Regions from separate parts of the Homo sapiens genome. Here region 2 is linked to region 1. The links are contacts of gene promoters, found by promoter capture Hi-C in blood cells and fetal thymus (Javierre and others, 2016). All regions are on one chromosome and are shown on one strand. Each heading gives the region's core, a stretch centred on a gene start or on the middle of the fragment in contact. The rest is flanking DNA. Distances are from core to core; before and after follow the strand shown.

What was found. The method cuts DNA at HindIII sites, captures the fragments that hold promoters and counts their contacts. A CHiCAGO score of 5 or more calls a contact.
Region 2: a contact is called between a fragment that was not itself captured here and the fragment with the promoter of PCM1 in region 1, in 1 of 17 cell types (neutrophils). The highest score is 5.0, in neutrophils.

Annotation. Positions count from the first base shown.
Region 1 is chr8:17,921,308-17,924,970 of GRCh38, forward strand. It overlaps PCM1 (pericentriolar material 1), which reads left to right and starts at 1,681. Exons shown (of 39, transcript NM_006197.4): 1 at 1,681-1,881; 2 at 3,406-3,473. It overlaps LOC124901867, which reads right to left. Exons shown (of 4, transcript XM_047422505.1): 1 at 3,607-3,663; 2 at 2,850-2,920; 3 at 2,202-2,459; 4 at 1-2,039. The coding sequence ends at 1,357. RefSeq lists enhancers at 1,049-1,498, 2,649-2,708 and a silencer at 1,893-2,187. The HindIII fragment of the contact is 6,694 bases long and covers 1-3,663 here.
Region 2 is chr8:17,362,126-17,365,594 of GRCh38, forward strand. The region is part of intron 3 of MTMR7 (myotubularin related protein 7); the gene reads right to left. The region is part of intron 1 of LOC102724838 (a long non-coding RNA gene); the gene reads left to right. Among named protein-coding and RNA genes, the nearest start is that of MTMR7, 49 kb to the right of the region's middle. The HindIII fragment of the contact is 185 bases long and covers 1,591-1,775 here.

The DNA of each region.
Region 1 (3,663 bases), core at 431-2,930:
TCAACATATACTAGTGTTTTTATATGCGTTGTATTTAATTAAAAAAAATCTTAAAGGAATCACATAGACCTCCGTTTAAATTTAGGCTCTACCACTTGCAGCTGCTACAAGTTTGATTTATATAATCTTTCATTGCCAAAACGGGTCAGATTCAGAACCAGCCTCTTCAGGGTAACTGTGAGGATCAAGAAAATCACAACAGCCGAAGTGCTTTACAGTGTGCCTGGCATAAAACAAACTCTGAGAACATTTTTTAAAAAATCCTTTCAAGGTAGGCAGTATCATTCCTTCCCCCTCATTTCATAGATGGGGCAATTAAGGCTCAGAAAGGCACGTCGCTTGTCCAGGATCTTGGAGTGGTGGAATTAGGATAGGGCATTCTGGACTACAATAAACACCTGAGCGTTTAGCTGCTGTGTTCTGAGCTCCCACAGCACTTTTTCTTACAACACAAACTTTATTTACATCACACTCCACTTCCGCATCCTTCACTAAAATATGAGCTCTTCAAGGGCAGGGACTATATTTTTGCTACCGCAGTAGTTAGCGATACACACACAGAATATGAGGAAAAAGTGTCTGACCAACGATCAATGCACTCACGACTGAACCTACGGTGGCAGATTGCAGTGGGATAGAAGAGCTTTATGTGAATTGCGTACTGAGATGCAGACCTACTATTTTGGGAACAATTTGTTTTTGTTGTTGAAACCCAGAATGCAATTCTTCTTTTTACCTTTATTTTGCTTAAAAAGTTATTCCATAATTATAAACTGCGTAAAACTAGAAGAATGCCCTTGCACTCAACTAAAACTGACAGGTGTTTTACCTTTCCAGTCAGGCACATTGAAGGCCTTGTGACTTTATTGATTTTTGTTTTTTAAAGGGAGGACCTGCCAATTTATTAATCTTAATAGAGCTGTAACAGGAGAGTATAAATAAAAAGATAGTTCAGAGAAAATTTACTGAAATTAAGTTTGGATTAAAATCATCTGGCTCTTTTAAGGAAAAGGGACATTAACCAAAAGTGGCGTTAACTATCAACAATATTTATGATTCTCTCACTCAGTAGATACATAATGACGTCTGGCAAATTGTTTAACTTCCGTGGAACAATCCCCTCATATGTAAAATCAGGAGGTTGGACTACATTGTAAGTGTCCTTTTGTTTCCACCTCTTCGTGACCGAATGTGGGGTGAGGAAGGGGCAAAAAAGCGATCCCGGTCTTGGCTCCTTCTTCCGGCACGGGCCGGAGCTGACACCCCCACGGAAAACCGCACAGCGCCTCCGCTCTTTCTCCACGGGCTGAGGGATCAATGCACTTCCGCATAGGCCTAGGGCCCCACGCTCCGCGATCAGCGCCGGAAGCGCACGGCATGCTGGGATTTGTAGTCCTCCACCTGTGGCCGGCAGGCGTTTAGAACGCGAGGTCTAGTTGGCATTCTGGGATACATAGTTCCTGGGCGGGTGGGGGCGGATTCGTTGGTGTAATCTCTTTTCGGCTTAAAGAGCCAGAAGCGACACCACAGACTCCGGCGGGTCACATGACTCCAGTCTAGCTCGCATTGCGGCTCCCGCCCGGGCGAGTTCTCGCCCCCGCGCGGCCGTTGCCGAGGAGACGGCGCATGTCCCGCCGCGCGTTGCCCCCTCTGCAGTACCCCCGCCCCTCTTCTCCCACCACAATGAGATCCTAAGATGGCGGTGGCTGCGGCGGTTGGCGCTGCGTAGCTGAGGTCGAAAAGGCGGCCACTGGGGCCGAGGCAGCCAGGAAACGTGTGGGCCTCTCTGCTGCGGTCTCCGAGGGCCGACCGCTGCCGGCGGCGGGTCGTGGGGGCTGACTGTCGCTCTGCCTTTGACAGGAGAGGCTGCTTCTTGTAGAGGTAATGCCTGCGCGTCCCCAGCCCTTGGCAACCTAGGGCGGCGCGCCCCAGAGGCGGGAGAGTAACGGCTCCGGGACACTCGGCCCTGTTGGGTCTGGCCACGGGCCCACGCCTCCTCTGTAGGTTCCCGGGTCTTCCTGCCCCGGGCTTCCCGTGCCCTAGGCGGTCAGTCCGCCCGCTCCCTCAGGACTGATCGCCGGGATCCCCGGGTGAGCACCTCGCGACGCGTTGGTGATTGCAGGACTCCCTTCTTGCCTCCTCGCCCCTCCTGCTGGCCCTGTCGGGGAGGCTGTTCTGCGTCCCGGTGGCTCCGGCTATACCCCTTGCGGGCGGAGGAAGCGGAGCGGGGACTCTGGTTTGGGTGCTAGGGGCACTGGGTCGAGTTCTTAGAGAAACAGGCCTTGGTGGCCATAGTTCTTCCCCGCGTTCCCTCTGTGGAACTCTCGGTGTCCAGAGTTTGGGGTGTAGAAGGGCGGATGAGGAGCGACGCGACTCTGAAGAGTTGCAGTTGGGCTGTGAGCTGCAGGATTTCCGCCGTCTCTGGTGCTGTGGGAGCCGATGGGCCGGGGGAGGCGTTCCTGGGAAGGTTAATGGAGTAATTATTGCCCCTTCTTTCTCCCTTCCTACCTATCTAGTTAGAATTGGGCCTAGAACCGGGAAAGACTAAATGCCAAGTGGGACTGGGGGAAACGTTGTTTGGTTTACAGAAACTGGCGTTTGGGGATTAGGCCCCGCCAGGGAGGCTGGGCGCGCCAACTTTGCATCCCTCAGCCTACTCCCCAGGAACTCGCCTGGTTTAATTTTTTTTGTTTTGTTTTGTTTTTTTGAGCGAGTTGAGGTCTGTATTGTGTGTCTTACGGGTGACGGTTCGTGTTTGGGCGCTGGAAGGAGCGGGCTTTCTGGGCGCCCCTACCACCCCCGCCCCATAACCGCTTTCCAGACTCCGCCTGCTGGTGTTCTCTGGTTACCGGAGTGGGTGTTGCAGAGCCTCGGGTGCACCTGCTCCTTTCTTTCCCTAGCACCTTCCTGGTGAGGACCCCTGAACACCAATATAATACAGAGTTTTTGAATTGAAGGTAAACCTGGTATTTATGTAGTGACGAGGTTATTTTATTATGAAGTACAGTAGCTTTTAAATGAGCAAACATTTTTAAAATCATCGGATATACGAGGTTGTTACATAGTTTGAGTAACAGGAAGCTCGATCAATCAGAGGAGTAAACTTTGGCATAGACTATTAAAGGATAGTTAGGGCTAACCATCTTTGTTACACTGTTCCGAAATAGATATCACTTTGCTGTTTGGTAAGATTTCAGAAGTTTAGGGGATTTAAGCATTTATGCATATCACACTATTTTCCAAAAGAATTGAGGTAACTTAAATTTAAAATATGAATAAGTTATATTTTTCCCCTTCTTTTGATCTTTCTAAACATACTTTAGACCAAAACTGAAGTATTTTTTATTCTGTATTTCATAGCGTAAGTAATTTACTTAAGTGATACATATTTTTAATCCTAATTAGGAAACAGCTTTGAAGTGTGGAGCGGGAAAGGAGCAGTTTCTGAGCTGCAAAAACTAGTTTCTAAACAGGTAATTTGACATTATTATCTGTATTATCCTTTGTATTAGAGTTGGAGAAGACTTTATGGTGGACACTGCTGTCACAGTTACAGTGCATGACTGAGGATCCTCTCTGCTTAGTAAACAAACTTTCTGGGTTCACCGCCCTGTTTGCTCTGCTTTTCGGCGTGCTGCTTTGGCCTGCCGGTATATCTTTGTT
Region 2 (3,469 bases), core at 433-2,932, 560 kb before region 1:
AAATGTCCTTGTAGCCACATTAAAAAAAAGTTAAATTAATTTAACAATCTATTTTATTTAGCCCAATATATCCAAAATCATTATCACTTCAACATGTGCATGATATAAAACTTACTAATATTTGATACATTTTGTTTTGTGCTGTCTTTGAAATTTCACATGTATTTGGCACTTAACCGCATACCTCAGTTTGCAGTAGCGCTGAACAGCTATCTGTGGCCAGTGGCTACCACCTTGGACAGTGCAGATCTAAGCATTTCTGATGATAATAAAGGATAACTGATACTCAGACCTTGTTTTGTTCCAGATTCTGTCGCAATTAAGTGCATTAATCCAGTTAGTAGGCAACATTGATGGTCCTCATTTTACCGACGAGAAATCTGACGCAAACGGGAGGCACACTCCCTCCCTCAGAGTCACACAGCCAGTTACCGGAGAGTCCAGGTTTAAATGAGACATCTGGCTGCAGAAGGCCTGCTCCTAATTGTAACACACCCTCCCCAAACGCAGATCCTTCTCTCTTCTTCTTCCTTCCTCGTTCCAGGCCCCTAATCTTCCTGTTTTTCTCCAATATACTTCTTTCTCATAGCTTTCCTAGGTCCTCCTATGTCCTTAGCATAGTGATAGTATTCAGTGTGAACAATTTAAGTTTCCTAAATACATGTATGTGTAGCCCTTTATAGAATCTTGCCACCAGCAAGAGGCTGCAGCAACACACAGGCAGCCTGACATGAAAACTCAGGTTTCAAACTTGAGATGACTCATCTGCATGGAAGAGGAAAGATAAGGGTCATATTTTAAGCACCAGATTTCTTCATTTTTCTTGAGAGTAAGAAGCAACTGCTGTATGTCAGTGAGATAAATTATATTCTATTTCAGTCTTTCTCCATGTCATGTTTCTAAACTTCAAAACTTAGAGTACGGACTATTTGGACAAATAACAAAATACGCACATCCAGGCGTGCTCACACACAAACCAGAGCAGACGCGTTCCGTAAAATCAATTTCTTATCATCTTAGCTAATGTTGCTGACAGCATGTGAAACCTCAGATCCTGTTCTGGGAACAGTTGGCTCAACATTGACACATCTTTTCCATCTCTAAGTACCATTTTCATGACTCAGGCTTCTGCTACCATAATGTTAACCACAAATGCAAGTTGTTTAGGATGCCAAAGGAATCTCTTGAGAAAGCCTCAGTTCCCTGAGTGAAAGAAGAGCTACTGAATATGGGGTAATAATGGCAGTTAAGTTCTCTTTGTTAAATATTTACAAATAGCTTTAAAGGTAGAAGAAGAAAAACATCCTATGACTACTGACAGTTTTCTGCGTGTGGGCTGATACCTGTTTCCACTGGGAAGAGGCAACGAAATTATCCATAAATTACAGCAAGAATAATTTATAACAGACATTAAGCAGATCACTGTTGAACTAGGAGACCTTAGGATGGGTTGACACTGAAATTATGAAATTTTCCCTTTTTTAAGGAAAAGGGTGATCAACCAATCCTTATGCCCAATTTAAGGAAAATTGTACACGAGGGCCAGGAAAAGCCCATTTTTGTCAGCCAACAGTCATGTCAATATGGGCAAGCTTCTTACCCACAGGCAAGCCCAGATACAGCCTGCAGACTCTGCCTACTCTAAGAAATCGAAAAGCGCCACTAGCACAGATGAAAGTTTTACTGAATTGTTCCCATGTCATAATTTTCTGTTCTTTTCGTTCTCTACTTTTACCAAATATTTAGCAGAATGTTTAGCAATTAGCTGGGAGGCAAGCTTAAAAAAAAAAAACCTAGGGCTTGACAATCCTTTTTTTTTTTTGCTTACAGACTTTTTAATAATATATTGATGAATTACAGTTTCATATATTTCTGGGGTAAAAAGTGTTGCTATTATTTTTTTTTTTTTTTTTTTTTTTTTTCAGACGGAGTCTCGCTCTGTCGCCCAGGCTGGAGTGCAGTGGCGCGATCTCGGCTCACTGCAAGCTCCGCCTCCCGGGTTCACGCCATTCTCCTGCCTCAGCCTCCGGAGTAGCTGGGACTACAGGAGCCCGCCACCACGCCCGGCTAATTTTTTGCATTTTTTTTTAGTAGAGACGGGTTTTCACTGTGTTAGCCAAGATGGTCTCGATCTCCTGACCTTGTGATCTGCCCGCCTCGGCTTCCCAAAGTGCTGGGATCACAGGCGTGAGCCACCGCGCCCGGTCAAAAAGTGATGTTATGATTTTTGACTACAATGTGGAATGATTAATTCAAGCTAATTAACATATACATTGCCTCAAGTATTTAACATTTTTTGTAACGAGAACATCTGAAATTTACTCTTAGCGTTTCGAAATGTACACTACTGAACTATTACCTATACTCAACACACTGTGCAACAGATTTCAAAATAATGAGACTTATTCCTCCTGCCTGAGGCTTTGCAGCCTTTGACCATCATCTCCCCACGTCCCCCACCCCCAGCCTCTGGTAACCACCATTCTACTCTCTGCTTCTATGAGTTTAACTGTCATAGATCCCACATGTAAGTGAGAACATATGGTATTTGTTATGTTTGGCTTTTTTCACTCAGCATAATGCTCTCTAATTCCATCCATGTTGTCACAAATAACACAATGTCTTCCTTTTTAAGGCTGAATAGCATTCCATTATTTGTATATACCATGTTTTCTTTATCTCTTCATCCAATGATGGATACTTAAGTTGATTCCACAACGTGGCTACTGTGAATAGTGCTGCAACGAAAATGTGAGAGCAGACGTTTCTTTAACTTACCGATTTCAATCTTTCCAGTAAGCACTCAAAAGTGGGATTGTGGAATCATACGATAATTCTATTTTTTGTTTGTTGTGGAACCTCCATCTGTTTTCCATAATGGCTTGTACTAATTTACATTCCCACCAACAGTGCATAAGCATTCTCTTTCCTCCCCACCCTTGCCAAAGCTTTGTTGTCTTCCATCTTTTTGGTAAAGGTCATTCTAACAGTTGTGAGGCGATACCTCACTGTGGTTTTAATTTGCATCTCCCTAATGATTATTGAGGTTGAGCGTTTGTTCATGTATCTGTTAGCCATCTATGTCTTCTTTTGAGTAATGTCTCTTGAGGTCCCTTGTCCTTTTCTTAATCAGAGTACTTGTTTTTTTTCCTATAGAGTTGTTTGAGTTCCTGACATATTTTGGGTATTAATCCTTTATCAGGTATATGGCTTCCAAGTCTTTTCTTCAATTTCCTTTGTTATGCAGAAGCTTCTTATATTTTAGACAAATCTTTAATATTTACAGAATCTGAACAGAGAGAAAATATTTGCCCACTCTAGGAAGGTCATATCCCTCACCTGATTTTCTACCCACTCTTAAAACAGGCATGTTAAAAGCTCCTCTGGCTTTTCCCATCACAGTCTAAGCCAGCATATCCAACTAAAACATCTTTTGCTGTTAGTGACCAGCAGCTTTCAGCAGGAAGTG